Linked DNA regions of Homo sapiens: all the other regions are linked to region 1. Evidence: promoter capture Hi-C in human tissues and cell types (Jung and others, 2019). All regions are on one chromosome and are shown on one strand. The core of a region is centred on a gene start or on the middle of the fragment in contact, and the rest is flanking DNA. Distances in the headings are between cores, read along the strand shown.

Region 1 (3,697 bases), core at 841-3,340:
AGGCTGAGGCAGGAGAATCACTTGAACCTGGAAGGCAGAGGTTGCAGTGAGCCGAGATCGTGTCACTGCATGCCAGCCTGGTGACAGAGTGAGACTCTGTCTCAAAAAAAAAATTAAAAAAAAGAAAAATCCCAATAACCAAACCCTGGCCCAGACCAATTAAAACAAAATCTCTATACATGGCTTTCAGGCCTCAGTGGTTCTTATTGTGTGTGTTGTATTGGGGGGGCTTTTGAGACCCCCACTCCTAACCTATTCCCAGACCAAACTGAGGGTTGGGCTTCTATATCTCACAGCCCAATAATGAGACACAGATGAACTAGGGAGGAAGAGAGTTTTTATTTCTGTAACTGGTTACAGGGAGAAGGCCTGGAAAATATCACCAGACCAACCCAAAATTACAAAGTCTTCCAGAGCTCATATACCTTCTAAGCTATATGTCTACGTGTAGGTGTGCATTCATCTAAAGACGTAAGTAAGTTATAGTCTTTTAACCCATAACTAAGATCTGAGTCCTGAAGACCTTCCTCTGGAGCCTCAGTAAATTTACTTAATCTAAGTGGGTCCAGGTGCTGGGGTGATTACCCTTATCTTATCTCCTGCTAAATCATGGAGGTTTGGGGGAGTTCCTTCAAACCCCAATAAACTTGTTTGTGGAGGCCTGAGGAGTTTCTTCAGACCGCCAATAAAGCTTGTTTAATCCTAAAAGGGTCCTGTTAAGAATTCCTTCATTATCTTGTCATGCTTCAAGGCCCAGGAAAGGCCTAGGCACAACTCTGGGTGGGCTTTTGTTACATCCCAGCCTTTGTATAAGGGCACTGGCTCTCTTATCTTTTAATATTTAACTTAACCCTTGTAATCCCAGCACTTTGGGAGGCCGAGGTGGGTGGATCACGTGAGGTCAGGAGTTTGAGACAAGCCTGGCCAACATGGTGAAACCACGTCTCTACTAAAAATACAAAAATTAGCTAGGTGTGGTGGCACATGCCTGTAATCCCAGCCACTTGAGAGGCTGACACACAAGAGAATCACTTGAACCCAGGAGGCAGAGGTTGCAGTGAGCCGAGATCATGCCATTGCACTCCAGCCTGGGTGACAGAGTGAGACTCCATCTCAAAAAAAAAAAAAAAAAAAAAAGCAAACAACAAAAACCCTCTCTTGGCTGCTTGCTCTGTGCCTTGAGCAAGAATCCTTCCAGCCCAGGAGTCACTTAGCAGTCTTCAAACATTCTAGTTTGCTTCTCTAGAGTTTCGGTCACATTTCTTTCCTAAGCAAAACACTATATAATTACCGAGTTGCAAAAATCATCTTTCCAAACGCCAAAACGGAGATAAGACAGAAAATAAAAGATGTGAGAGGCAGGCATCCTGGGTAAATCACTCTGGTATTGCAGGGTTGGGATCCCCAGGGTACTATGATGGCTAACTGGAACAGAATGCAGGCATTTCTCCAAAGCCCAAGAGTTCATAAAAGCAAATTAAATATGACTCAATGGATTAATCAAGGGCCACCAGTTGCATTACTGATTACTAACTTTGCAGAAATGAAACACGGTATGTTGGGTCAAGGTTCAGTGAGGCTGGTTTTCATAACATTCCAGGCAATAAACAGGCACACTCATTCATTGATAAATGTTGACAATGACAGGTGGTGACTGTTGATAAGGTTTGATTGCCATTCAGAAAGTTTGTTTGACCTCTTTCCAAGTAACCACGACCTTACCTCTCTCTTTTGAGCTTATCACAATTGGTGACTGTACACTTGTTTCATAGACTTCCCCACCAGACTGTGAGCTCCATAGGGCTGGGCCCCAGGTCGGTTTCACCACCAGGCTCTCTCGCCTAACTCGGCCCACGGGAGGCCGTTTCCAGCTGCTCTGGCTCCATAGCTCAGCCTGGCAGCGGCCACTGGGTGCCCTGATTTGGTCGGCCCCGCCCCACCGGGCCTTACTTCCGGGATGCTTCTGGCGGGAGCAAGAAACATGGTTACATACGACGTAATGCGCCTGCGCACAGTCCGTCCTGCGCCTGCGCATTCCTGACAGCACCTCCCGGACCGGACATAACGGTCCCCGCGCGGCTCCCCGAACCGGAAGTGGAGGTGAGCTGTCGCGGGCGGCGCCCGGCCTTGCTCAACGCCCAGCAGTCCCCACCGTCGCTGCCGCCGCCACCGCCCTCGGCCGCTGCCGAGGCCTCCTGCAGCCATCATGTCCGCCAGCGCCGTCTACGTGCTGGACCTGAAGGGCAAGGTACTGAGGGCTCCCCACCCTCCCTGTTGCCAGGCAACCGGCAGGGGCCTCCGCCCGCGGGGACCCACCCTGTTGCTAGGTAACCGGCTTATGAGCCCCATCCTGGTGTGAGGCAGAGAGGCCGGTAGACCTCACCTGAGAGCCCCATCCTGTTTCTGGGTAACCGGGCGGGGGTCTTAAGTGGGTAATCCCCGCCCTGTTGCTACGTAACGCGGTGGGCTGCAGCCACCGCGTTGCCAGGTAACTGACTGCACCGCCCTCTGCTCCCCGGCGCCGGGGCCGGGGGCTCGGGCCTCGGTGGAGGACCCAGAAGCGGGGCCGCAGCCGGCCTCGGAGCCAGGCAGGGCGTCCAGGGGCTGCGCGACCCTTGGCCGGGGGTGGCGAGGCGTGGCGGGGACTGGGTGCTCTCGAGCCAGTCCCGCCTTCTCAGGGCGTTACAGCTTCTGTTTATCGTGCACTTTCTCTCAGTAGGAATTTCTCCACGTTCATTGTGATAGTGAGTTACAAGGATTAGGTGAGGTGAGTGGTGATCACGAGTGCCGTTTTATAGAGGGAGAAACTGAGGCATGGAGAGGTGAAGCAACCTGACCAAGGTCACAATGGTCACAGAGAAGTAGCAAGTCTAGGAGTCCGATCCAGAATCATTCGTTTATTCAGCTGATATCTGGGGAGCACCTACTAATGCCGGGCAGGGTACTAAGCCTGGGGTCGATTTGTGTTTAGCAAAAAACAGTCCCTTTTTTTTTGTTTTGTTTTTGAGATAGTGTCATGCTCAGTCGTCCAGTCTGGAGTGTAGTGGTGCAATCTCCACTCACTGCAACCTCCGCCTCCCGGGTTCAAGCAATTTTCCTGCCTCAGCCTCCCAAGTAGCTGGGATTACAGGCACCTGCCACTACGCCGAGCTAAATTTTGTATTTTTAGTAGAGGCAGGGTTTCACCATGTTGACCAGGCTGGTCTCGAACTCTTGACCTCGAGTGATCCACCTGTCTTAGCCTCCCAAAGTGCTGGGATTACAGGTGTGAGTCATGTGCCAGGGCTCAACAATCTGTGTTCTTACGGTGTTCACAGGCTGGTAGGGGAGATGGATACCCATCTCCAAAAACACAAATAAATGTCAATTGCAGTGGTGTTGAGGGGCGAGTGTGTTATACAGACAGTCAGCCTCAGCCCGAGGATGAGAGAGGGTTTCCCTGAGGAGGGGTGACAAATGGACCAGAGACACCAGGGAGCTGGACATAAACTAGAACCCAGGCATCTTCCCCAGAGGATCTGAGAAAACTTTAAGAAGGGATTGTCCCCACCTTTTAGAAATGGTCCTCTGCCTTCTCCTAAGTCCATCCCAGGTGCAAGGCAGGTGGCTGCCTGGCCTGTTGCATGTGGAAGCAACAAGAACCGGTCCAACAATGTGAAGCCCAACATTGATCAGTGAGAGAAACAAACATGGGTGT
Region 2 (3,697 bases), core at 345-2,844, 1.7 Mb before region 1:
GCAGAGCGGGAGCGGCCAAAGTTCACGTTGGTGAAGCCACCCATGCCCATAGGGAAGCCAGAGAATGGGTCATCAATGTCCATGCCTTCCTCCCCGTTCCGCTGCCCAAAAAAGGTGTCAAAGGGATTTCTGCCACCGAAGAACTCAGCAAACATGGCATGAGGGTCTCCATGGAATGTGTAGCTGAAAGAGGTACCATTGGCACCACCGCCGCTACCGCCACTGGGGCCACTCCCCTTTAGGCCTGAAAAGCAGATTTAGAAGCAGTCAGATGGCTGAACAGCAGACTCTCTCTCGAGCTTCCCTTACAGGGGGAAACAGCTTGGAAGCCATGGGGGAGGAACTTTTTTGTCTGTCAGGGGAGAGCAAGGAAGAACCCCAAGTTTCTACCTCTCACTGCCAACAGCAGAGACGCCCCCCTACCAACAGTATTTCCGCGTAGCCTGACAGTGGAAAAGGACTCATGCGGTTAGGTGTTCACCTCCAGGTGCCACCTAGGCCCTGCCACTCCTGGACTGACCCATCCTCCTGGCAACATCACCAAGAGATGGCTAAAGACACATGGTCCAGGGTCGGCTTTCGGTAAGTGTTTACTCTCAACGTTTTAGGGCTAATGGTGCGTAGGAAGAGAAGAAAAAAAAAAACAAAAATAAATAGGGAGTTTTTAAATCCTCACACATTAGCATTCACTGCCACCATCCTTGCACAAAAAGTCAGCTCCAGATCAAGCCCAGAAGCCAGCCTGAATCATCAACGGGCACAGGAACAAAAAGCCCTGCTCTCCTTACCCTCCGAGGCGGCCCCGCTCTCCGGACCTGGGCGGCCGCTGCCTCCTGCGTGCCCTGCCGGGGCCAGGTCATCACTTCCCGGGAATTATCCCAACCCAGCCCCCAAGCCCACGAACGGGGTCGGCTCCTGCATTCACAACCCCTCGCCCCGCAGCTGAGCCGGAGGCGCCGCCCCGCGGACCCCGGCGGCCGAGCCCAGGTGAGCCCGGGTCCGCAGCGGGCTCCGCCGCGCCGTCCCCGTCGTCACCCCCGGCTCCCCCACCCCCATGCACCGCACCCCGGGGCTGCTCGGGGCCGCGGGAGGAGGCGCCCGGGGAGGGGCAGCCCCAGACATGCTAGAAGCTTCTGGCCGAGCGGCTGGGCCAAGGCTCCTCCTCCCACCGCGCGGCCGCCAATCCGAGGGCGGAGGCCCGCGAGGCCGGAGGGCGGGGCAGCTCGGCCCCACGGCCCGGGGCGTCCTTCCCGGGGGGCCGCCGAGAGGGGCCAGCGTGCCTCAGTTTCCCTGTCTGTCAAAAGGCGGGGCCGCGCCCCTGGCCGCGAGCACACACCTTCCTCCCCGTAGCGGTCGAAGATCTCGCGCTTGCGCGGGTCGCTGAGCACGTCGTAGGCCTCAGCGATCTCCTTGAACTTCTCCTCGGCGCCGGGCTCCTTGTTCTTGTCCGGGTGGTAGCGCAGCGCCTGGCGGCGGTAGGCCCGCTTGATCTCCTCGTCCGACGCGCCGCGGGCCAGGCCCAACGTCTGGTAGTAGTCTTTACCCATGACCCCCTCCTGCGGCCCGCCGACCCGCTGTCGCCGTCCCCCGGCTCCGCCGCCGACCAGTCCCGGACTCTATATACCCGTCCGGCGGAAGCTTCCAGAGCCCGCCAGCCCCCTCCAGAACCTTCCGCCCCGCCCGCCCCCGCGGCGCCGGCCAATCGCCGCCGCCCTTTCAGCGACACGCGACATCCGGGGCGGGGCCTCGCCGTCAACGGCCGCCCGCGCGGGGCCACGCCCCCTCCCGCTCCGCCCTCGGCAACACCTCCCCGCGGCGCGCGCGCACAGGTCGGAGGAGGCCCCGCCCACCTTTCGGGACGAGCCAATCGCGACCTTCTTTCCCTCTCTACGCGGCCCCAGCTACCCTGCGTCCCGCCCTCCGCCTGGGTCAGTAGGTCGGGACCCACAGCGAACTTGCTGTTCCAGGAAGGGGTGGGGCCTGGGACTACCCAGTCCTTTCCCCGGGAGGCGATGAACCTGCTCGCCCTTGTCTCGTGGGGCCTGCGGTGGGCTCCCGCCCGGTGACGCCGGACGAACTACCTAACCTGTGTCTGCCTAACCCAGGGGCCCCCTTCTATCTACAACATGGCAATAAGAGAACCTATCAGGCCGGGCGCGGAGCCTCATGCCTGTAATCCCATCACTTCCTGAGGCCAAGACAGGAGGATCTCTTGAGCCTAGGAGTTGGAGACCAGCCTAGGCAACATAAGGAGACTCCGTTTCTATTTAAGATTAACAAACAGGCCGGGCGCGGTGGCTCACGCCTGTAATCCCAGCATTTTGGGAGGCCGAGGCGGGCGGATCACTTGAGGTCAGGAGTTCGAGACCAGCCTGGCCAACATGGTGAAACCCCATCTCTGCTAAAAATATAAAAATTACCCGGGCGTTGGTGGCACGAACCTGTAATCCCAGCTACTCAGGAGATTGAGGCCTGAGAATAGCTTGAATCGGGGAGGCGGAGGTTGCAGTGAGCCGAGATCCGGCCGTTGCACTCCAGCCTCGGCAACAGAGCGAGACTCCGTCTCATAAATAAATAAAATAAGTAAAATAAAGTAAAATGAACAAAAAACCCACCAGCGCTATTCTCCCAACCGTGGGGAGAAGGATTTTGGGACGGAAGACTGCCTCTGTTCTCACCTCCTAAAGCAAGGTGAGGATCTGGACGGAAGCGCATCTCCCAAGGTCCTCCCAGTCCCGCCTTCTTCCCTTTACTGCCCTCTCAAGATCACTTGCCGCTAAATTTGAAATTTATCTTGTCTCTTGGCTTTCAATGTGTCTTCCCTCCCAGTCTGACATCGCCACCTGGGCAGGGGCCAGGTCCTGTCTGCACTGGGTCCCCAGTGCCTGGAACGCAGTGAGAACCTCATAAATATTCCCCGTTCTTACACACGTGCTTCTTTTTCTTCCCCAACTACCTTTATAATTTGGGGGGACATAGGTGTGTCACACACCTTTCAAGGCCTCTGTTTCCTCAATTGTAGGCAACACGATCGCGTTTGGCTCTGAAAGTCTGGGGTGCCTCTGTCAAGGACAGAGCTGATGGGAAAAGGAGGCTCAGAAAGGGGTTCCACCTGGGAAGGGCCCAGGGAAGTGGGGGAGGTTCCTGGAAGAACTGCCTGGGAGGTCAGAGCCATGTAACACTGGCTCTGGAACCAGACAGCTGGGCTTCATTCCCAGCTCCAGCATTTCCCGGCTGGGTAACCTTGGGTTAGTTACTAGGCCTTTGCTGGCCTTAGCTTCCTCATCTGCACAATGAGGAATGAGGATAGCAGTTGTGCCCACATCATGAGGGCTTTGAAGTTTATATGAGTCAACATTTGCAAAGTGCTCAGAGCAGGCATGGCACAAAGGAAGCATTGTCAAAGGGGTGACTAACCATTTTCTTAGTGGTGGGCTCTTCAGCCATCACCTCATTCCTGGCAGCTAAAAGATTCCAGTGACAGCTGCCCCTGGGCAGACAGGGACTCCTGAAGAAGAAGACCATCCTCCTGCCTCCTGAGGCGGGAGGATCTCTTGAGCCCAGGAATTTGAGGCTGCAGGCAGCTATGATTGTGCCACTGCACTCCAGCCTGGGTGACAGTGAGACCCTCAGCCTCCCCATAAAAAAGTTACATAAATAACTATCAGGAGCATCATGGCGGATAGTTACATAAATA
Region 3 (3,697 bases), core at 679-3,178, 1.5 Mb before region 1:
TGATAAAATTCCCCATGGAGCAGAGAACTGGTTGCATCCAGGGCCCATGGAAGATGGTGTGAAGGCAGCAGGGAGAAGTGGAGAGAGAGTGGTGTGAGCTGACTGAAGAAGAAGCAGCTTCCAGATTGTTCAGGGCTTGGAAGTGCAGGAAAAGAACCTTGGCCCATGTTCTAAGCCCGCTGGGAGCCAGTGACGTGTTTAGGTGAGTGGTGCAATGCACCTGTGGTTTTAACAGAACCGCACCCCCCAGCCCACCTGTGAGGAGCGTGGGCTCAGGGAGGAAAGCAGTGGTAGGTGGAGGCCATTAGGAGTAGAATGGTGCTGGTCTAGACTTGGGGGTTGAGTGTGGAGGAGGTGTGCTGGGTTCCCCCAAGACCACCCCAGTCTTGATGATCCACTAGGAGGACTCACAGGAGATGTCGTACTCGTGGCTGTGATTTATTACCAGAAGTGGATATGAAGCAGAATCAGCAAAGGGGGTGCCAGGTGTGGTGGCTCATGCCTGTAATCCCAGCACTTTGGGAGGCCAAGGTGGGTAGATCACTTGAGGCTGGGAGTTTGAGACCAGCCTGGCCAACATGGCGAAACCCTGTCTCTACTAAAAATGTAAAAATTAGCCGAGCATGGTGGTGCATGTCTGTAATCCCAGCTACTTGGGAGGTTGAGGCAGGAGAATTGCTTGAACCCGGAAGGCGGAGGTTGCAGTGAACCAAGATTGCGCCACTGCACTCCAGCCTGGGCGACAGAGTGAGATTTCCTTCTTAAAAAATAAAAAAATAAATAAAAGTAAATAAAAGAAGTGTATCTGACTCATGGTTCTGTGGGCTGTACAAGAAGCACGGCACCAACATCTGCTCCTGGCGAGGGCCTCAGGCTGCTTCCACTTAGGTCAGAAGGGGAAGGGAAGCCAGTGTGCGGAGATCACATGGTGAGGGAGGAAGCAGGAGCGGGGGCAGTGGGGGAGGGAAGGGAAGGGAAGGGGGAAAGGTGCCAGGCTCTTTTTAACAACCAGCTTCCTTGGAAAGTAGTAGAAGAGTACTCCTTCTCTCTGAGGGAGAGCGTTAATCAATTCTTGAGGGATCTGCCCCCAAGTCCCGCCTCCGACACTGGGGATTAACGTTTTGGTGTGAGTTTTGGAGGAAACAAACAGTCCCTAAATTCCAGACTTTCAGAAGGAAAGCAGGTGTTCAACATAAACTGCATTGTTTGTACAAGCAGTTTAAGTGGAGCGAGTTTCTCTTACCAGTTAGGGGGGCGGGAACCTTCCTGAAATCCAAGTTCCCAGACTCCACCCAAGGGCCAACCTTGCAAACACATCTCATTAAGGAGCCCATCCAGGCCTGCTGGGTTAACGCCTTTCTGCACAGTAGGGAAGTGAGGAATGATTTAAAACACATAGAGGCCAGCACTTTGGGAGGCTGAGGTGGGAGGACTTCTTGAGGCCAGGAGTTGGAGACCAGCCTGGGCAACATAGCGAGACCCCATCTCTACAAAATAAGAAAATTAGCCAGGCATGGTTGTGTGCACCTGTGGTCTCGCTACTCAGGAGGCTGAGGAGGGAGAATCACTTGAGCCCAGGAATTGAAGGCTGCAGTGAGCTAGTCCAGCCTGGGTGAGAGAGCAAGACCCTGTCTCAAAAAAATTATAGTAATAATGCATATAAAACATTTATATTGAGGAGGTTGAGTTGATTTGGTGGTTCATGTATTCATTTACCAATGACATGGAGCATTTTTGTGCCAAGTAAGGTATCGGGGACAGGATGGTGAAAGGCACCCAGGCTTATTCTTACAAAGCTTCCAATCCAGTGAGGATGACAGAAAAGAAACACTCATGGCAGCAATACATAGCTGGTTACAGATGGGTAAGGGCTGCGAAGAAAGGGAAGGGGTCCTATCAGAGAAAAGGAGAGAAGGGGCTCTTTCTACAGGGGAGGAGACCTCAGGATGGGGCACTCTGAGGGCGACGTTTCAGTGGATCCAAAAAGAAAAGGCTCTATGTAGGTGTTGGCTGTAGCGGGAATGGGTGGGAGAGGGGCTTGGGGGTGAGTACCGCCATGTAGAGACGTCATCACTATTTATTCTGATTAGTTGCTGGGATCTGTAGAGTGTCAGAGAGGGGTGAGATTTCTGATCAAAGACAGGGGCAGCACTTCCTGAGATTGAGGACATGGTTAGGGAGAGCAGGCTTTGGGAGGACGGTGATGAGTGTTTTTTTTTTTTAAGACATAGTCTTGCTCCGTTGCCCAGGCTGGAGTGCAGTGGTGCAATCTTGGCTCACTGCAAACTCCATCTCCTAGGTTCACGTGATTCTCGTGCCTCAGCCTCCCGAGTGGCTGGGACTACAGATGTGTGCCACCACGCCCAGCTAATTTTTGTATTTTTAGTAGAGACGGGGTTTCGTCATGTTGGCCAGGCTGGTCTCAAACTCCTGACCTCAAATGATAATGCTGGCCTCTGCCTCCCAAAGTGCTGGGATTACAGGTGTGAGCCACTGTGCCTGGCCTAGTTTTTTTGTAACAGAAATTTCTCTTTCACAATTTAGGATACCAAAAGTCCGAAATTAAGGTGTCGACAGGGCCGTGCTCCCTCTGATGGCTCGGGGGGGAGGATCCTGCCACCTGCTTTCTAACAGTGGCCTGCAGCCCTTGGTGCTCCTTGGCTTGTGGATGCAGCCCTCCCGTCTCTGCCTGTGTTGCCTCATGGCTGTGTCACCTCTGTGTATCTGTCTCTGTCTCTTCTGTTAGGAGAACCATCATATTGGATTAAGGGCCTACCCTATTCTCCTGTCGTCTCAACTCATTACATCTGCAACAATCCTATTTCCAAATAAGGTCACATTTTGAAGTACTGGGGGTTAGGACTTCTCTTTTTTGGGGGGTTCACAGTTCAAACCATAGCAGTCTGTTCTCTAGTCCCCCCAAATTCATGTCCTTTCCACATGCAAAATACACTCACGTGGTCCCAAAGTTTTAATCCATTCCAGCGTCAACTCTAAGTGCAAAATCTCATCTAAGCACCATCAACTCAAAGTTTCATCTCATCTGATGAGAATCCCACAACTCTTCATGTCAGTCATCTACAGCAGGTATGAGGGAGACTCAGAGTGTGGTCCATTGTGGGGCAAAATTCCTCTCCATCTGCGAACCTGTGAGAAATCAGAAAGCAAGTGATCTGCTTCCAAAATACGGTGATGGGGCAAGCAAAGGATAGACATTCCCATTTCAAAAGGAGAAAAAGGGGTCATGGGTCCTGAGCAAGTTTAAAACCCATCAGGGCAAATGCTATGAGGTTTCCAGGCCTGGAACAAATCCTCTATGGTTGGAAGCTCTGACCTCTGGACCTCATTTTGGGTACCTTCTATTCCTGTTCCCTTAGATGGGCAGAAAGATTTGAGCCAATGGTTGGATACATGGTCTGGTGTTCAGATGTGAGAGTCAGCCTGGAGATTTGGGCTTCATCATGAAGTTTGGGAATTGACACCCAGAGAATGGGTGAGGTTGCACACCAAGGCAGAGAGAATTGAGGGAGACACGAAGAGGAGGGCCTGCAACCTGTGGACGCCAGCAACATGTTGGAGAAGAAGCTCTTACAGGAAAAAGAGGAGGCTGGGGTTGTGATCACTGATCACAGGCTGGGTGGGCTACAAGAAGGAGGGATTGGCTAGGTGCAGTGGCTTGCAGCTATAATCCTGGCTA
Region 4 (3,697 bases), core at 465-2,964, 1.3 Mb before region 1:
CAGGCTCTAAAAAGTAAACCAAAAAAGTTAACGATCCCAAAGAAATACAAACTCCCATCAGAGAATACTATAAACACCTCTATGCAAATAAGCTAGAAAATCTAGAAGAAATGGATAAATTCCTGGACACATACACCCTCTCAAGACTAAACCAGGAAGAAGTCAAATCCCTAAATAGACCAATAACAAGTTCTGAAATTGAGGCAGTAATTAATAGCCTACCAACCAAAAAGAGGCCCAGGACCAGTCAGTTTCACAGCTGAATTCTGCCGGAGGTACAGAGAGGACCTGGTATCACTCCTTCTGAAACGATTTCAAACAATGGAAAAAGAGGGACTCCTCCCCAGCTCAATTTATGAGGCCAGCATCATCCTGATACCAAAACCTGGCAGAGACACAACAAAAAAAGAGAAAATTTCAGGCCAATATCCCTGATGAACATCAATGTGAAAATCCTCAGTAAAATACTGGCAAACTGAATCCAGCAGCACATCAAAAAGCTTATCCAGCATCATCAAGTCGGCTTCATCCCTGGGATGCCAGGCTGGTTCAACATATGCAAATCAATAAATGTAATCCATCACATAAATAGAACCAATGACAAAAACTACATGATTATCTCAATAGATGCAGAAAAGTCCTCCGATAAAATTCAACTCCCCTTCATGCTAAAAACTCTCAGTAAACTAGGTATTGATGGAACATAACTCAAAATAATCAGAGCTATTTATGACATACCCACAGCCAATATCATACTGAATAGGCAAAAGCTGGAAGCATTCCCTTTGAAAACTGGCACAAGACAAGTGTGCCCTCTCTCACCACTCCTATTCAACATAGTGTTGGAAGTTCTGGCCAGGGCAATCAGGCAAGAGAAGGAAGTAAAGGGTATTCAAATACAAAGAGAGGAAGTCAAATTGTCTCTGTTTGCAGATGACATGATTGTATATTTAGGAAACCCCATCGTCTCAGCCCAAAATCTCCTTAAGCTGATAAGCAACTTCAGCAAAATCTCAGGATACAAAATCAATGTGCAAAAATCACAAGCATTCCTATACAGCAATAATAGACAGAGAGCCAAATCATGAGTGAACTCCCATTCACAATTGCTACAAAGAGAATAAAATACCTAGGAATATAACCTACAAGGGATGTGAAGGACTTCTTCAAGGAGAACTACAAACCACAGCTCAAGGAAATAAGAGAGGACACAAACAAATGGAAAAACATTCCATGCTCATGGAAAGGAAGAATCAATATCTTGAAAATGGCCATACTGCCCAAAGTAATTTATAGATTCAATGCTATCCCCATCAAGCTAACATTGACTTTCTTTACAGAGTTACAAAAACTACTTTAAATTTCATATAGAACCAAAAAATAGCCCGTATAGCCAAGACATTTCTAAGCAAAAGGAACAAAGCTGGAGGAAATGATTGGCTCTCAGGTGACCTCAGGTTAATATTCACGGCTCTTGTTCTTCCTGACCTTTCCTACAGTACCCACTGGGCTCTGGGACTTACCCTACTGAGTTTTCTGAAAGGAAGGTCTCCATGGAGAAGTGTAAATTCCTCTCTAGCAGGTTGATGGTGGAGATGGAATCTCTGTCTCAAGACAAGGCATCAGGAAAAGTTGAAGCATCATCTATACTTGAGCCAGACTAAGGACTCCAAATGAAACCACCATGTCATTTCCAGCCCAAGGTTGCATATGCTGAGGGACTGCAGCAGAGGAGATATTTATGGCTTCGTATATCTGCTGATTAGATACCTTTCCTCCTGTTATTCCAACTCTGAACACATCAGTTTCCTGGGGGACGTTGCCCTGCACTGAAACAAATGTCATTGTTGTTTTTTTTTTCTGTATCGTCTATTCCCAAGACACTATGTTAAAAGTGAGGTGTATCCAGGCTTTATTACTCCTTCCCCGTGGACTTCCTTGGCTTCCAGAGTCCCATTCTCCTAGCACCTTCTCCCAGCCTTCAGTGAAAATTTCCTCCAAAGTCTAAACTGAGGAACCTGTCTTGACTAGGTCCCTTGAGTCTCCAAAGCACTGGCTTGTGATGGAAACTCAGCTCTTGACATATCCAGAAAATGGCAATTTACCTTTGCAAGGAGATGAACTGTGTTCTGTTCATATAAAACCATGGGTACTACATTTCTTGGCTTCATGTTGCTTTTGCCAAAACATTAGAATTTCATATATATATTTTTTTGAGATGGAGTCTTGTTGTATCACCTGAGCTGGAGTGCAAAAACATTAGCCGGGTGTGGTGGCAGTTGCCTGTAATCCCAGCTATGCAGGAGGCTGAGGCAGGAGAATTGCTTGAACCCGGGAGGTGGAGGTTGCAGTGAGCCAATATGGCGCCATTTCTCTCCAGCCTGGGTAATAAGAACAAAACTCCATCTCACTAAAAAAAAAAAAAAAAGTGTTAGAACAGGCAAGCAGGATCAACTGATTAAGTTCACAGAAAAAAATGGGGGGATTTCCAAGTTTGTGCAGAAGGACAGCTGCAACACATTCTGCTTTGCAGTGAGGAATTCAGGGCACTCATGCTCCAGGACACCAGAACCCACAGTCCAAAGATCCCAGGATTCATGATGACCCTGTAGTGCAGGGGGTGACAGATGGCCACAAAGTGGTCATAGGCCATCACAGTCTGCAGAAATACATTCATCCCTGCAAAGAGTAGGAAAAGTTTGTGATTCTGGAAAAGTTTCTTGGGAAAGGACATGCCTTGCTTCTCGGAGACAGAAATTTGTGATCATGAAGGGACACCTGCTTCCAGGGGTCCACACGGGGAGGAGATTGCATGAGTGTCCTTCCACGTCTGCTTTATTATACTCAGGGACATCTTCTCTGTCCTCCTCTGCCTGGCTCCAAAAATTCACATTAAAAATGTTTAGACTCCTTTTATTTTATTTTATGTTCTGGGGTACATATGCAGGATGTGCAGGTTTGCTACATAGGTAAACGTGTGCCATGGTGGTTTGCTGCACCTATCAATCCATCACCTAGGTATTAAGCCCCACAGGCATTAGCTAGTTTTCCTAAGGTTCTCCCTCCCCCCCACCCCACCCCCCAACAGGGCTCAGTGTGTGTTGTTCCCCTCCTTATGTCTATATGTTCTCATTGATCAGGTCCCACTTATAAGTGAGTGCATGTGGTATTTGATTTTCTGTTTCTGCGTTAGTTTGCTGAGGGTAATGGCTTCCAGCTTCATCCACGTTCCTGCAAAAGACATGAACTTGTTCCTTTTTATGGCTGCATAGTATTTCATGGGGTATATGTACCACATTTTCTTTATCCAGTCTATCACTGGTGGGCATTTGGGTTGATTCTATGTCTTTGACATGAACAGACACTTCTCAAAAGAAGACATTCCTGTGGCCAACAAACATATGAAAAAAAGCTCAATATCATTGATCATTATAGAAATGCAAATCAAAACCACAATGAGATACCATCTCATGCCAGTCAGAATGGCAATGATTAAAAAGTCAAGAAACAGATGCTGGCAAGGTTGCAGAGAAATAAGAATGTTTTTACACTGTTAGTGGGAATGCAAATTAGTTCAACCAGTGTGGAAGACAGTGTAGTGATTCCTCAAAGATCTAGAACCAGAAATACCATTTGATCCAGCAATGCCACTACTGGGTAAATATCCAAAGGAATAGAAATCATTCTATTACCAAGA
Region 5 (3,697 bases), core at 702-3,201, 1.1 Mb before region 1:
GACTTTTTTTTTTTTTTTTTTTTGAGATGGAGTCTTGCTCTGTCACCCAGGCTGGAGTGCAGTGGCACAATCTCGGCTCACTGCAATCTTCGCCTCCCAGGTTCAAGTGATTCTCCTGCCTCAGCCTCCCAAGTAGCTAGGATTACAGATGCCCACCCACCATGCCCAGCTAATTTTTGTACTTTTAGTAGAGACTGGGTTTCACCATTTTTCCCAGGCTGGTCTCGAACTCCCGACCTCAAGTGATCCACCCGCCTCAGCCTCCCAAAGTGCTGGGATTACAGGTGTGAGCCACCATGTCTGGCCACCTTATGGACTTTTTAGGTGGGTTTTTCCCCAACCTTTGGGCTCAAATTGATTTTTTTTTTTTTTTTGAGACAAGGTCTCACTCTGTCACCCAGGCTGGAGTGCAGTGGCATGATCTCAACTTGCTGCAAACTTCACCTCCCGGGCTCAAGGGATCCTCCCACCTCAGCCTCCTGAGTAGTTGGGACTATAGGCACGTCCAGCTAATTTTGTATTTTTAGTAGAGACAGGGTTTCACCATGTTGGCCGGGCTGGTCTCAAACTCCTGAGCTAAATTGATCCACCTGCCTCGGCCTCCCAAAGTGCTAGGATTACAGGTGTGAACCACCATGCCCAGCCTCTGAAAATAATTTTAATTTTAAAAAAATAATGACAGTGGGATTGGCACCTACTCATATCCCCATATGTCCAACGCGAAGTTGGTCTACCTTGTTCTTGCTTTGAAGCTGACCTCCCCACAGAGTTACGATCCAAGAGCCAACAGTCCAACAGCCAATATTATTAGGGAAAGTAATTCTAATATTTACTAAAGCCCCTAGGAGAATTTCAACAAGTATCCTACACACGTTCTGTGTGGCTGATAGGAAGGATTTTTTTTTTAAGAGACAGGGTCTCACTCCGTTGTCCAGGTTGGAATGCAGTGGTGCGATCACAGCTCACTGCAGCCTCAACCTCCAGGGCTCAAGTGATCCTCCCACCTCAGCCTCCTGGGTAACTGAGACCACGGGCATGTGCCACCAATCCTGGCTAATTTTTTTAAATTTTTTGTAGATATAAGGTCTTGCTGTTTTGCCCAAGCTGGTCTCAAACTTCTAGGCTCAAGGGATTCTCCAACCTTGGCCTCCCAAGTAGCTAGGATTATAGGCATGAGCCACCGTGTCCAACTCCAGTGCCAAGCAGGTGATCAAGAAGTGTTTGATAGGCCGGGTACAGTGGCTCAGGCCTGTAATCCCAGCACTTTGGGAGACCGAGGAGAGCAGATCACTTGAGGTTTGAGATCAGTCTTTCCAACATGGTGAAACCCTGTCTCTACTAAAAATACAAAGACTAGCTGGGCATGGTGGTGGGCACCAGTAATTCCAGCTACTCAAGAGGCTGAGGAGGGAGAATTGCTAGAACCCAGGAGGTGGAGGTTGCAGTGAGCCGAGATTGCTCCACTGTGCTCCAGGCTGGGTGAAAGAGTGACACTCCATCTCAAAAAAAAGTGTTTGATAAATTTATTTATTTAATACCGATTTATTGATTGATTGATACTCTTCGGAGCTTTCCTTAATGAGCCAGTTTCTTCCATAATGCAATGAATGAAAGGACCTCTCAGATTCAGGCATCTGAGTGCCCGACTGGAGTCTGGGACCCCCCAGACCTCTCTGCCTGGGAGCTTCCATGAAGCTCAGCCTGAGCTGGAAGGAGACCGTAGGGAGATGTCCTAGTGAGAGTGAATCCCTAGTCACTGTTTCCTCTTCTTACCCACTCGATGATCCCAAAGCACACCCATCTCCAAAAGAACAGGTCACATGTGGCAGAGGAGAAACAAAATAATTAGCATCCGCTTCCTTAACAAGGAGCTATGGGGACGAAGTCTCCTAGAGTCCCCAGACTATAAATACCCTGATGTTCCCCTGGCTCCCCCACTCACCTGCAGAGTCTGGGGGCGGGGGGGTACACATATGAATCCTTCCCATAGACATCAGGCTAACCCCAGCGATCACAGGTGAGTAGCCCCCATGCCCTTCCTAGGGGTTTAGTGCTGACCTCGGGATCCTCTAGCAGTTGGTGGAGAAGGAGGCTTCCCGGGACCCTCCCCTTGGTGATGCCATCCTGGTGAGCAGGTGAGGGATGGGGAAAGGATTGAGCTGAGGGTGGGGGTGGAGGGTTGTGGGAGAGGAATCTGTCTCCTTCCTAGAGGCCGAGAGAGAGAGAAGAGACTGAGACCAAGTCTAGACTCTCTGAGTGGACAAAGCACGCAGACGGCAGACCCTCTGTGGCAGGATATGTGGAGGAAAAGCACTGAGGGTCTGCAGCTGCAGGACACCTGCACAGATAGGAGAGGTCTTGAGAAACAAGTTTCTCCAATGCAGCAGCTCCCCAAGTGTGGTCCCTGGGCTAGAAGCACCAGCATCCTCTGGAAACTATCTAGAAGTGCTGGTTCTTACACCAGACATTTCAGGGAAAGGGCTTAGCTTTTTGTGTATGATGAGTTTGGGAGCGGGGGGGAGGGGGCGGGGGGATTGTTTTGTTTGTTTGTTTGTTCTTTCTGTTTTTGAGACAGGGTCTCGCTCTGTTGCCCAGTCTGGAGTGCAGTGGCATTATCATAGCTCATCGCAGCCTCGACCTCCCAAGCTCAAGTGATCCTCCCTCCTCAGCCTCCCGGGTACCTGGGATAACAGACATATACCACCATGCCTGGCTAATTTTATTTTCGTAGAGGCAGGGATCTTCCTATGTTGCCCAGGATGGTCTCACACTCCCGGGCTCAAGAGATCCTCCTACCTTGGCCCCCCAAGCAGCTGGGACTAACAGGTGTGTGCCACCATGTCCAGCTAATTTTTTATTTTGTAGAGATGGGGGTCTCACTGTGTTGCCCAGGTTGGTCTCTAACTCCTGGACTCAAGGGATTCTCCCACCTCAGCCTTCTGAGTAGCTGGGACTATGGAAGCATGCCACCATGCCCAGCAGATTGTTTTATTTTTTGTAGATCCAGGGCGGGATTGGGGGTGGGGTGGCCTCACTTTGTCTGCCAGGCTGGTCTTGAACTCCTGGCCTCAAGCAATTCTCCCACTTCAGCCTCCCAAAGTGCTGGGATTACAGGTGTGAGCCACCATGCCTGGCCCGCTTTTTGTGTTTTAACAAGCCTTCCAGGTGACCCTGAAGCGTGCTCAAGGTTGAGAACCGCTGCTCTATGCAACCCAAGTCAACAACTGAGGACTGTTACAAATATGTTGCCAGGAAGGGAATCGCAGTATTCTATCCAGCCTAGAGAAAACCAAGCATTGCATTGCAAAAACCTCAAGTCCAACACTAAAAAGCCTCAAAAAGTTAACATAGGGCTTTGCTGAAGGCCTCTTGGGGTTACCAAGGAGATTATGCTGCTAACCTTCCTAAAAACCCCTTTCATCGGCTGGGCGCTGAAATGATGAGATTACTGGGCTCACGCCTGTAATCTCAGTACTTTGGGAGGCCAAGGTGGGCGGATCACCGGGTCAGGAGTTCAAGACCAGCCTGGCCAACAGGCTTAGTAGAGGCGAAACCCCGTCTCTACTAAAAATACAAAAATTAATCGGGCGTGGTGATGCACACCTGTAATCCCAGCTATTCGGGTGGCTGAGGCACAAGAATCACTTGAACCCAGGAGACGGATGTTGCAGTGAGCCGAGATCGTGCCACTGTACTC
Region 6 (3,697 bases), core at 749-3,248, 1.1 Mb before region 1:
TCCTGAATGCTACTGTGATGGATATCTCTGGGCAGCCACCCCTTTGCTGGTTCCTCTGAGGTCTGACTTCCAGCCAGGGAGGCCTAGGCAGGCTGAGGTATTCACCTTCTTCTCCTGGAAGATGCCAGATAGACGCAAGCCTCAGGTGTGGAAACAAATGGGAATGACCACAGCGGGTGGAGGAAGCTTGGGTCCTGCTCCCCAAAACCTTCTCTATCTCCCATCCCCCAGGAACTGAGCACCCCAGGGAGCTGGTAGAATGGAGATGTAGCCCCACAGAACCACGCCCCATGCCCATAGCCTTGAAAACAGCCTAATTTATTATTCCCTTTGCACATGAAACAGAGGCCTAGACAGAATGTCTGTGTTTGGAGTCCACCAGAAGCCAACCTTGAGACAAGGATTCAAGTATTTAGGAAATAAACAGGAAATACTGTAAGTGGGGTGGATATGTGGGAGAGGGAAGGGAAGGAAGTCAGCAAAGAGTGTATTGATAACCAGGTTTCTACAGTGGACAGCTGGAGCTCAATCCCGTGGGTGAACACTAGGGGTCAGTGTAGAACATGAACCTCAATCATCCAACACAAGGGTGAGGGAGCTGGGGTATTTATCCATCAATTCCCCTTGACTACCACAGAGGTGCTGAGCTCTGCCCAAAACTGACAGGAAATGGTCTTTTGGTCTTTCAACTAATTGGTCTATATGTGTCTGGGGCTGGTTAATCCACCAGGTACCAAAAGCACAGCACATCAGACCTGCAGCCAATGAGAACATTTAGGGGAAAGAAAACACACACGTGGCCAGGTGCAGTGGCTCACACCTGTAATCCCAGCACTTTGAGAGGCCAAGGAAGAAGGATCGCTTGAGGTCAGGAGTTTGAGACCAGCCTGGGCAACATAGCAAGATCCTGTCTCTACAAAAAAAATTTAAAAGCTAGCTGGGTATGGCAGTGCATGCCTATAGGCCTAGCCACTCAGGAGGCTGAGGCAAGAGGATTGCTTGAACCCAGAAGTTCAAGTCTGCAGTGAGCTATGATCACACCAATGCACACCAGCTTGGGTGACAGAGGGAGATTATGTCTCTAAAAATAATAAGGCCAAGCACGGTGGCTCACACCTGTAATCCCAGCCACTTGGGGGGCCAAAGTGGGAAGATCACTTGAGCCCAGAAGTTTGAGAACAGTCTAGGCAACATGATGAGACCCTATCTCCACAAAAAAATAGAAAAATCAGCCTGTGGCATGGTGGCACATGCCTGTAGTTCCAGTTGCTTGGGAGGCTGAGGCAGGAACATCACTTGAGCCTAGGAGGTTGAGGGTGCAGTGAGTTGTGGTAGTGCCACTGCACTACAGCCTGAGCAACAGAGCAAGAAAAATAAATAAAATAATAATAATAAAGTAAATAAAAATAACATGAAAATAATTTTTAAAAAATTTGAGACAGAGTCTTAGTCACCCAGGCTGGAGTGCAGTGGCACGATCTTGGCTCACTCCAACCTCTACCCTCTGGGTTCAAGCGATTCCCCTGCCTCAGCCTCCCGAGTAGCTGGGATTACAGGTGCCTGCCACCATGCCTAGCTAATTTTTATATTTTTAGTAGAAACGGGGTTTCACCATCTTGGCCAGGCTAGTCTTGAACTCCTGACCTCGTGATCCACCCGCCTCAGCCTCCCAAAGTGCTGGGATTACAGGCATGAGCCACAGTGCCCGGCCATGAAAATAAATTTTTTTAAAAGAAAAGAAAATGGGCCAGGCACGGTGGCTGACCCCTGTAATCTCAGCTCTTTGGGAGGCCAAGGTGGATGGATCACAAGGTCAGGAAATCGAGACCATCCTGGCCAACATGGTGAAACCCCATCTCTACTAAAAATATAAAAATTAGCTGCACGTGGTGGTGTGTGCCTGTAATCCCAGCTACTCAGGAGGCTGAGGCAGCAGCATCGCTTAAACCAGGGAGTCACAGGTTGCAGTAAGCCAAGATCGTGCCACTGCACTCCAGCCTGGGCAACAAAGCAAGACTATGTCTCTATAAAAGAAAAGAAAAGAAAATGTACGCATACAGGCTCTAAAATCTGTACAGCAACTAGCAAAATCCACAGGAATAAGCATACAAACATCATTATGAAACTTAGAATTCATAACCATTTCATTACATACAATTTGCAGATAATCTGTTCTCACTTATGGAAATTTCTGATTGCTAAGAAAGAATCAGAGCCAATGGTGAATTAAATAGGCTACATGCAGGCAAATAAAGACAACAGGAAAAGTACAAAAACTCAAAAAGATTTACACAAAATAATAATAATAAATATTTATGTGGTATGTGGGTGTCATATGGGTGGGGCTAAGGGTTGCTCTCACTCCCATGTCAGACCCCAGCTCCTCTGAGACTCTGAAATACCCCATTGGGACCTTAGTCCTGCAGCCTCTACCCTCAACTTGTAAACAGGTATTGTCTTGACCCCTGACTTCTTTCCCCATTGTCAATAGCTGCCTCAAAGACATCTGCGCAGGGATCTCATAGGGAGGAGGGTGCACTCCACCCTTTTACAGACTGATGCCCCCCAAACACACATATCCAAGAAAAGTGAACAGCACCTAGGAGAACTGTATATCAACAGTTGTATAATGAGTATACCAATATATGCATAATGAGAGTCCCAGAAGGAGAGAAGTGAAAGGAGCAGAAAGAATATTTGATGAGGCTGGGTATGGTGGTTCATGCCTATAATCCCAGCACTTTGGGAGGCCAAGGTGGGCAGATCACTTAAGGTCAGAAATTTGAGACCGGCCTGGCCAACATGACGAAAACCCATCTCTACTAAAAATACAAAAATTAGCTGGGCATGGTGACAGGCACCTGTAACCCCACCTACTTGAGAGGTTGAGGCAGGAGAATCACTTGAACCCAGAAAGCAGAGGTTGCAGTGAGCCAAGACCATGCCTCTGCACTCCAGCCTGGGCAACAGAGTGAGACTCCATCTCAAAAAATAATAATAATAATATTTGATGAAATAATGGCCAAAAAACTTCCCAGAAGCCCAGAATTGATGAAAGACATGAATCTACATATCCACAAAGCTCAACAAACTCCAAGTACAATAAACACAGAGAACCACACAAAGACACATTAAAACCAAACACACACAGCCTCCTCGTCCAGGCCTCTTGGACACCCCCTCCTATACAGACCTCCATCACCTGACACCTGATCTCCTACCTGAATATTCAGCAGTGAACAACATAGACAAGCATCACTTGATCACTTGGTGGAGACCCAGTCTGGACGAGGAGGCAGATAAACTAGAACAAACCACTGGGACTGTTAAATTCAAGTTGTGGCAAGTGTTAGAAGAAAGGAAACTGAGTAATGTGATACTGACTAGACAGAGGTGGTGGACAGAAAGGGTCTCCCTAGAAGGTGCCATTGGACCTAAAGGATGAGAGAGAGGTGGCCTCAGAAGAACCAGGGCTTCCCAGGCAGAAGGAACCATGTGTGCAAAGGACCTGAGGCAGAAATAGCTTGATATGAAGGAGAACCAGAAAGGAGGCCATGGTGAGTGAATGGGACAGCCAAAGAGATGAGGCTGGAAGTCTTGTGAGACCATGCTGGGAATCTGAATTTTATTCTAGGTGAGGTGAGCAGTCATAGGAACACTATTCAGCAGGATGGTGCCACAATCTGATTTCAGTTTT
Region 7 (3,697 bases), core at 640-3,139, 1.1 Mb before region 1:
CTTATAGGTGGATCTTGAGAAATCAGAAATGCATTTTTAGCCATTGAGTTTGGGGATGGTTGTTACAGGGCAGTAGCTATCTGATACACCTATTATGCGTCTGGTTGGGTTCAAAGCGCTTTATGTGAAAATGTGTATCAAGTACAATAGGTGCCCACTAGACCTTCCTCCTCCTTCGTGTGAAGCTGGGTAACAGGGTGAGGGGGTTCCTGGGGGAAGGAGGGAAAGGAAGAGGCTCAGGCCCACCTGCTAGGACAATGACATCCGCCTTCTTCAGGGCCGCACTGCGGTTCTCCCGGATGTGGAGGGGGTGGTTGCGGCCTAACAGCCCCCGTGCCATCCCTCCAAGGAAGCAGGGAACACCCAAGGTCTCCACGGCAGCCCTGGGAGTCCAGGCAGAGCAGAGGTCAGTGTGGCCGGGGCCTCCCGCCTCCCCAAGAGCACCCGAGGACTGGGGACTGGGAACGTGAAAACAAGGGCAGGGCTGGCGCTTCTCACCGAAGCTTGTCGGCAGACGTTGGGGTGAGCAGGGCCTGACTCCCCAGCACCATCAGAGGCCTCTTGGCCCGGCTCAGGATCTCCACACAGCGCTGAACCTGGAGCGAGAGGTGGGGATCAAAGGGCTGTCTTTTTATTTATTTATTTTTTTGAGACACAGTTTCACTCTGTTGCCCAGGATAGAGTGTAATGGCATGATCTCAGCTCACTGCAGCCTCCACCTCCCAGGTTCAAACGATTCTCCCGCCTCAGCCTCCAGAGTAGCTGGGATTACAGGCGCGTGCCACCATGCCTGGCTAACTTTTGTATTTTCAGTAGAGACAGGGTTTCACCATGTTGGCCAGGCTAGTCTTGAACTCCTGGCCTCAAGTGATCCGCCTGCCTCGGCCTCCCTAAGTGTTGGGATTGCTGCTGTGAGCCACCGCGTCCAGCCAAAGGGCCGCCCTTGAGTCGCCATGAGCACCCAAGATTAAGGCCCCAGTACTGACTCAGGGAGAGGGTCAGGGGGCCCTCTCCCCTCAGGGAGAGGGTAGGGTCCTCAGACACAAAAGAGAGGCAATTCACCTGCTGCGGGGAAGCCTGGGGGATGTCCAGGGGCAGCGGTCCCTCGGGCTGAGGCTCCCAGGCTCCTGCAAAGAGGTTGGCCAGGTAATTCTCTAAATACCTGCAAAAGGGAGGGGGAAGAAACCAAGTTGCCAGAATTAACTAACTACAAGGATTCCAGGATCTGAGCAAGGAAAGGGGCCGGGAGAAAAGCCAGGAGCAAAGTGGCATGGGGACAGGGTGGATGAGTGACACCTCAGGGACAGACGAACCCTAGTGGCCAGGTCTTCAACTGCCTGTTTGCCCTCGGTAGCCTCTGGGGTCCACCCCAACTCCACGTAGCCCCCCAGAAGCAAGGAACGCAGGCTCAGCATGCCAGGATTAAGCCTGTGGGTCCAACAGATGTGAGCTCAAGTCCTGGCTCTGTCACTTCCTAGCTGTGCAACTTAGGGCAAGTGACTTCACCCTTCTGAGCTTCCACCTCTGTCAATGTAAATATGAACCTCCCTCCCCAGGTTCAAGGATCTGTCCACTTAGGACATGAGGCGCTTTGCATGGGAGTTCTGAACACTGTCCTCTCCTGCTTCAAACAGGGTCTTCTCGGTCTCCTTGCTCACTGGGCCCCAGGGCCCCAACTTTCCTGAAGGACCTGTGCAGGGCCCTGGAGACACAAAGATAGATCCTGCCCAGCCCTCCCCTCAGGGGGCGCTCTATCCAGCGAAAGACAGACACATGGGCATTGGCAGGAAACAGTCGGAGCTCAGAGTCAGAAGCCTCTGCTTTCACCGTTAAGGACAGGCCAAGACAGCACAGAAGCAGCCCAGGATGGAACCGTGGGAAGCCCCGCAAGTAAAGAAAAGGCAAGGGAGGCTGAGGCAGGAGGATTGCTCGAGGCCAGGAGTTCAAGGCTGTGGTGAGCTATGATCATACCACTGCACTCCAGCCTGGGTGATAGAGTGAGGCCCTGTCTCAAAACAAAACAAAACAAAAAAGGCAAGATAAGAGATAGCCTTGTGAGAGGCAGCCCAAGAGAGAGGGGCAAGGAGAACAAGGGGAGGGACTGACTGGGAAGCCAGGGGGCAAAGTGCATTAAGAATGAGGCTATATGACCAAAATGGTGAAACCTCATCTCTACTAAAAATACAAAAATTAGCTGGGTATGGTGGACTGCACCTGTATTCCCAGCTACTCCGGGGGCTGAGGCAGGAGAATCACTTGAACCCGGGAGGTGGAGGTTGCAGTGAGCCAAGATCGCACTACTGCGCTCCAACCTGGGGGACAAAGCGAGACTCCGTCTCAAAAAAAATAAAGAGGCCATAGAACAAAATCACTACTGCCTGAGCTGACCCTCAGGCGCTTCACACACATCCGGAGTACAGGAGCCTGACTACCTTGTCCACTGATGATGCCCCGTGCCTGTCCTGGAACCTGGCACATGGCTGCCGCTCGCTAAATGTATGGAAAGGAAGGGCCAAGGACAGGCAAAGGGAAGGGACTGAGGGGAAGGGAGAGAAGGAGGAAGAAGAGGAAGAGGAGGAGGAGAAGAAAGGAAAGGAAGAAGAAGAAGAGAAGAGGCCAGGCGCAGTGGCTCATGTCTGTAATGTTTGAGAGGCCGAGGAGGGTGGATCACTTGAGGTTAAGAGTTCAAGACCAGCCTGGCCAACATGATGAAACCTCGTCTCTACTAAAAATACAAGTATTAGCCAGGTGTGGTGGCGGGCGCCTGTAGTCCCAGCTACTCAGAAGGCTGAGGCAGGAAAATCACTTGAACCCAGGGGGAGGCGGAGGTTGCAGTGAGCCGAGATCACGCCACTGCACTCAAGCCTAGGCAACAGAACGAAGAATCTGTTTCAAAAAAAAAAAAAAAGAAAGAAAAGGACAAAGATGTGAGGGAAGGAAAGGAGGAGGAAGGAGAGGGCTCGAGTCTGGGCTCTGCCACTTTTTTTTTTTTTTTTGAGACGGAGTCTTGCTCTGTCACCCAGGCTGGAGTGCAGTAGCACGATCTTGGCTCACTGCAAGCTCCACCTCCTGGGTTCACGCCATTCTCCTGCCGCAGCCTCCCAAGTAGCTGGGACTACAGGCGCCCGCCACCACGCCCGGCTAATTTTTTTTTTTTTTGTATTTTTAGTAGAGATGGGGTTTCACCATGTTAGCCAGGATGGTCTCGATCTCCTGACCTCGTGATCTGCCCACCTCGGCCTCCCAATGTGCTGGGATTACAAGTGAGAGCCACCGCACCCGGCCTGGGCTCTGCCACTTCTTAGCTGTGTGACTTTGGGCAAGTGACTTCACCTTTCTGAGCTTCCTCCTCTGTAAATGTAAGAATGAACCTCCCTTCCGAGGTTCAAGGATCATCCTTTAGGAGGAGGAAAACGGAGAGGACGATGGGAAAGGTGGTGGGGGAAAGGGAGGAGAAGAGGAAGGAAGAGGGAGGAGGAAGAGGAGGAAGAAGAGATGATGGAGGAGGAGAAGAAAGGGAAAAGGAGGAGGAGGAGGGCTGTCCTGAGCCTCTCCCCTTTGCTGCCTCCACGAGGGCCGCCTTGCTTTCCCTACCCACCCAGTTCATTCCTGCCTCAGGACCTTTGCACATGCTGTTCCTTCTACCTGGAATGCTCTCCCCCCAGCTGTCTCCTCCCAGTCCACATGTGAATCAAAG

Evidence for each region. The method cuts DNA at HindIII sites, captures the fragments that hold promoters and counts their contacts. A contact is called where the count stands out against the background at its distance.
Region 2: a contact is called between the fragment with the promoter of DNAJB1 here and the fragment with the promoter of AP1M1 in region 1, in 1 of the 25 tissues and cell types used here (mesenchymal stem cells).
Region 3: a fragment that was not itself captured here is called in contact with the fragment with the promoter of AP1M1 in region 1 in 1 of the 25 tissues and cell types used here (pancreas).
Region 4: a contact is called between the fragment with the promoter of OR7A17 here and the fragment with the promoter of AP1M1 in region 1, in 1 of the 25 tissues and cell types used here (H1 embryonic stem cells).
Region 5: the fragment with the promoter of OR1I1 here is called in contact with the fragment with the promoter of AP1M1 in region 1 in 4 of the 25 tissues and cell types used here (dorsolateral prefrontal cortex, lymphoblastoid cells, mesenchymal stem cells and 1 more).
Region 6: a contact is called between a fragment that was not itself captured here and the fragment with the promoter of AP1M1 in region 1, in 3 of the 25 tissues and cell types used here (IMR-90 fibroblasts, dorsolateral prefrontal cortex and heart left ventricle).
Region 7: a fragment that was not itself captured here is called in contact with the fragment with the promoter of AP1M1 in region 1 in 1 of the 25 tissues and cell types used here (dorsolateral prefrontal cortex).

Annotation. Positions count from the first base shown.
Region 1 is chr19:16,195,821-16,199,517 of GRCh38, forward strand. It overlaps AP1M1 (adaptor related protein complex 1 subunit mu 1), which reads left to right and starts at 2,091. Exons shown (of 12, transcript NM_032493.4): 1 at 2,091-2,248. The coding sequence starts at 2,207. RefSeq lists a silencer at 2,235-2,474. The HindIII fragment of the contact is 7,648 bases long and covers 1-3,697 here.
Region 2 is chr19:14,516,803-14,520,499 of GRCh38, forward strand. It overlaps DNAJB1 (DnaJ heat shock protein family (Hsp40) member B1), which reads right to left and starts at 1,595. Exons shown (of 3, transcript NM_006145.3): 1 at 1,337-1,595; 2 at 1-244. The coding sequence starts at 1,547. RefSeq lists silencers at 877-1,446, 1,657-1,976 and an enhancer at 2,889-3,618. The HindIII fragment of the contact is 14,493 bases long and covers 1-3,697 here.
Region 3 is chr19:14,710,016-14,713,712 of GRCh38, forward strand. The region is part of intron 7 of ZNF333 (zinc finger protein 333); the gene reads left to right. Among named protein-coding and RNA genes, the nearest start is that of ZNF333, 22 kb to the left of the region's middle. The HindIII fragment of the contact is 7,816 bases long and covers 1-3,697 here.
Region 4 is chr19:14,884,418-14,888,114 of GRCh38, forward strand. It overlaps OR7A17 (olfactory receptor family 7 subfamily A member 17), which reads right to left and starts at 1,715. Exons shown (of 3, transcript NM_030901.2): 1 at 1,524-1,715. It also overlaps the pseudogene OR7A18P. The HindIII fragment of the contact is 7,391 bases long and covers 1-3,538 here.
Region 5 is chr19:15,080,260-15,083,956 of GRCh38, forward strand. OR1I1 (olfactory receptor family 1 subfamily I member 1) reads left to right here and starts at 1,952. Exons shown (of 2, transcript NM_001004713.2): 1 at 1,952-2,017. The HindIII fragment of the contact is 16,029 bases long and covers 1-3,697 here.
Region 6 is chr19:15,101,126-15,104,822 of GRCh38, forward strand. No RefSeq gene overlaps it. Among named protein-coding and RNA genes, the nearest start is that of SYDE1, 4.4 kb to the right of the region's middle. The HindIII fragment of the contact is 6,045 bases long and covers 1-3,697 here.
Region 7 is chr19:15,118,920-15,122,616 of GRCh38, forward strand. It overlaps HACL2 (2-hydroxyacyl-CoA lyase 2), which reads right to left. Exons shown (of 16, transcript NM_006844.5): 7 at 1,063-1,162; 8 at 499-596; 9 at 247-383. Among named protein-coding and RNA genes, the nearest start is that of ILVBL-AS1, 3.4 kb to the right of the region's middle. The HindIII fragment of the contact is 6,371 bases long and covers 1-3,697 here.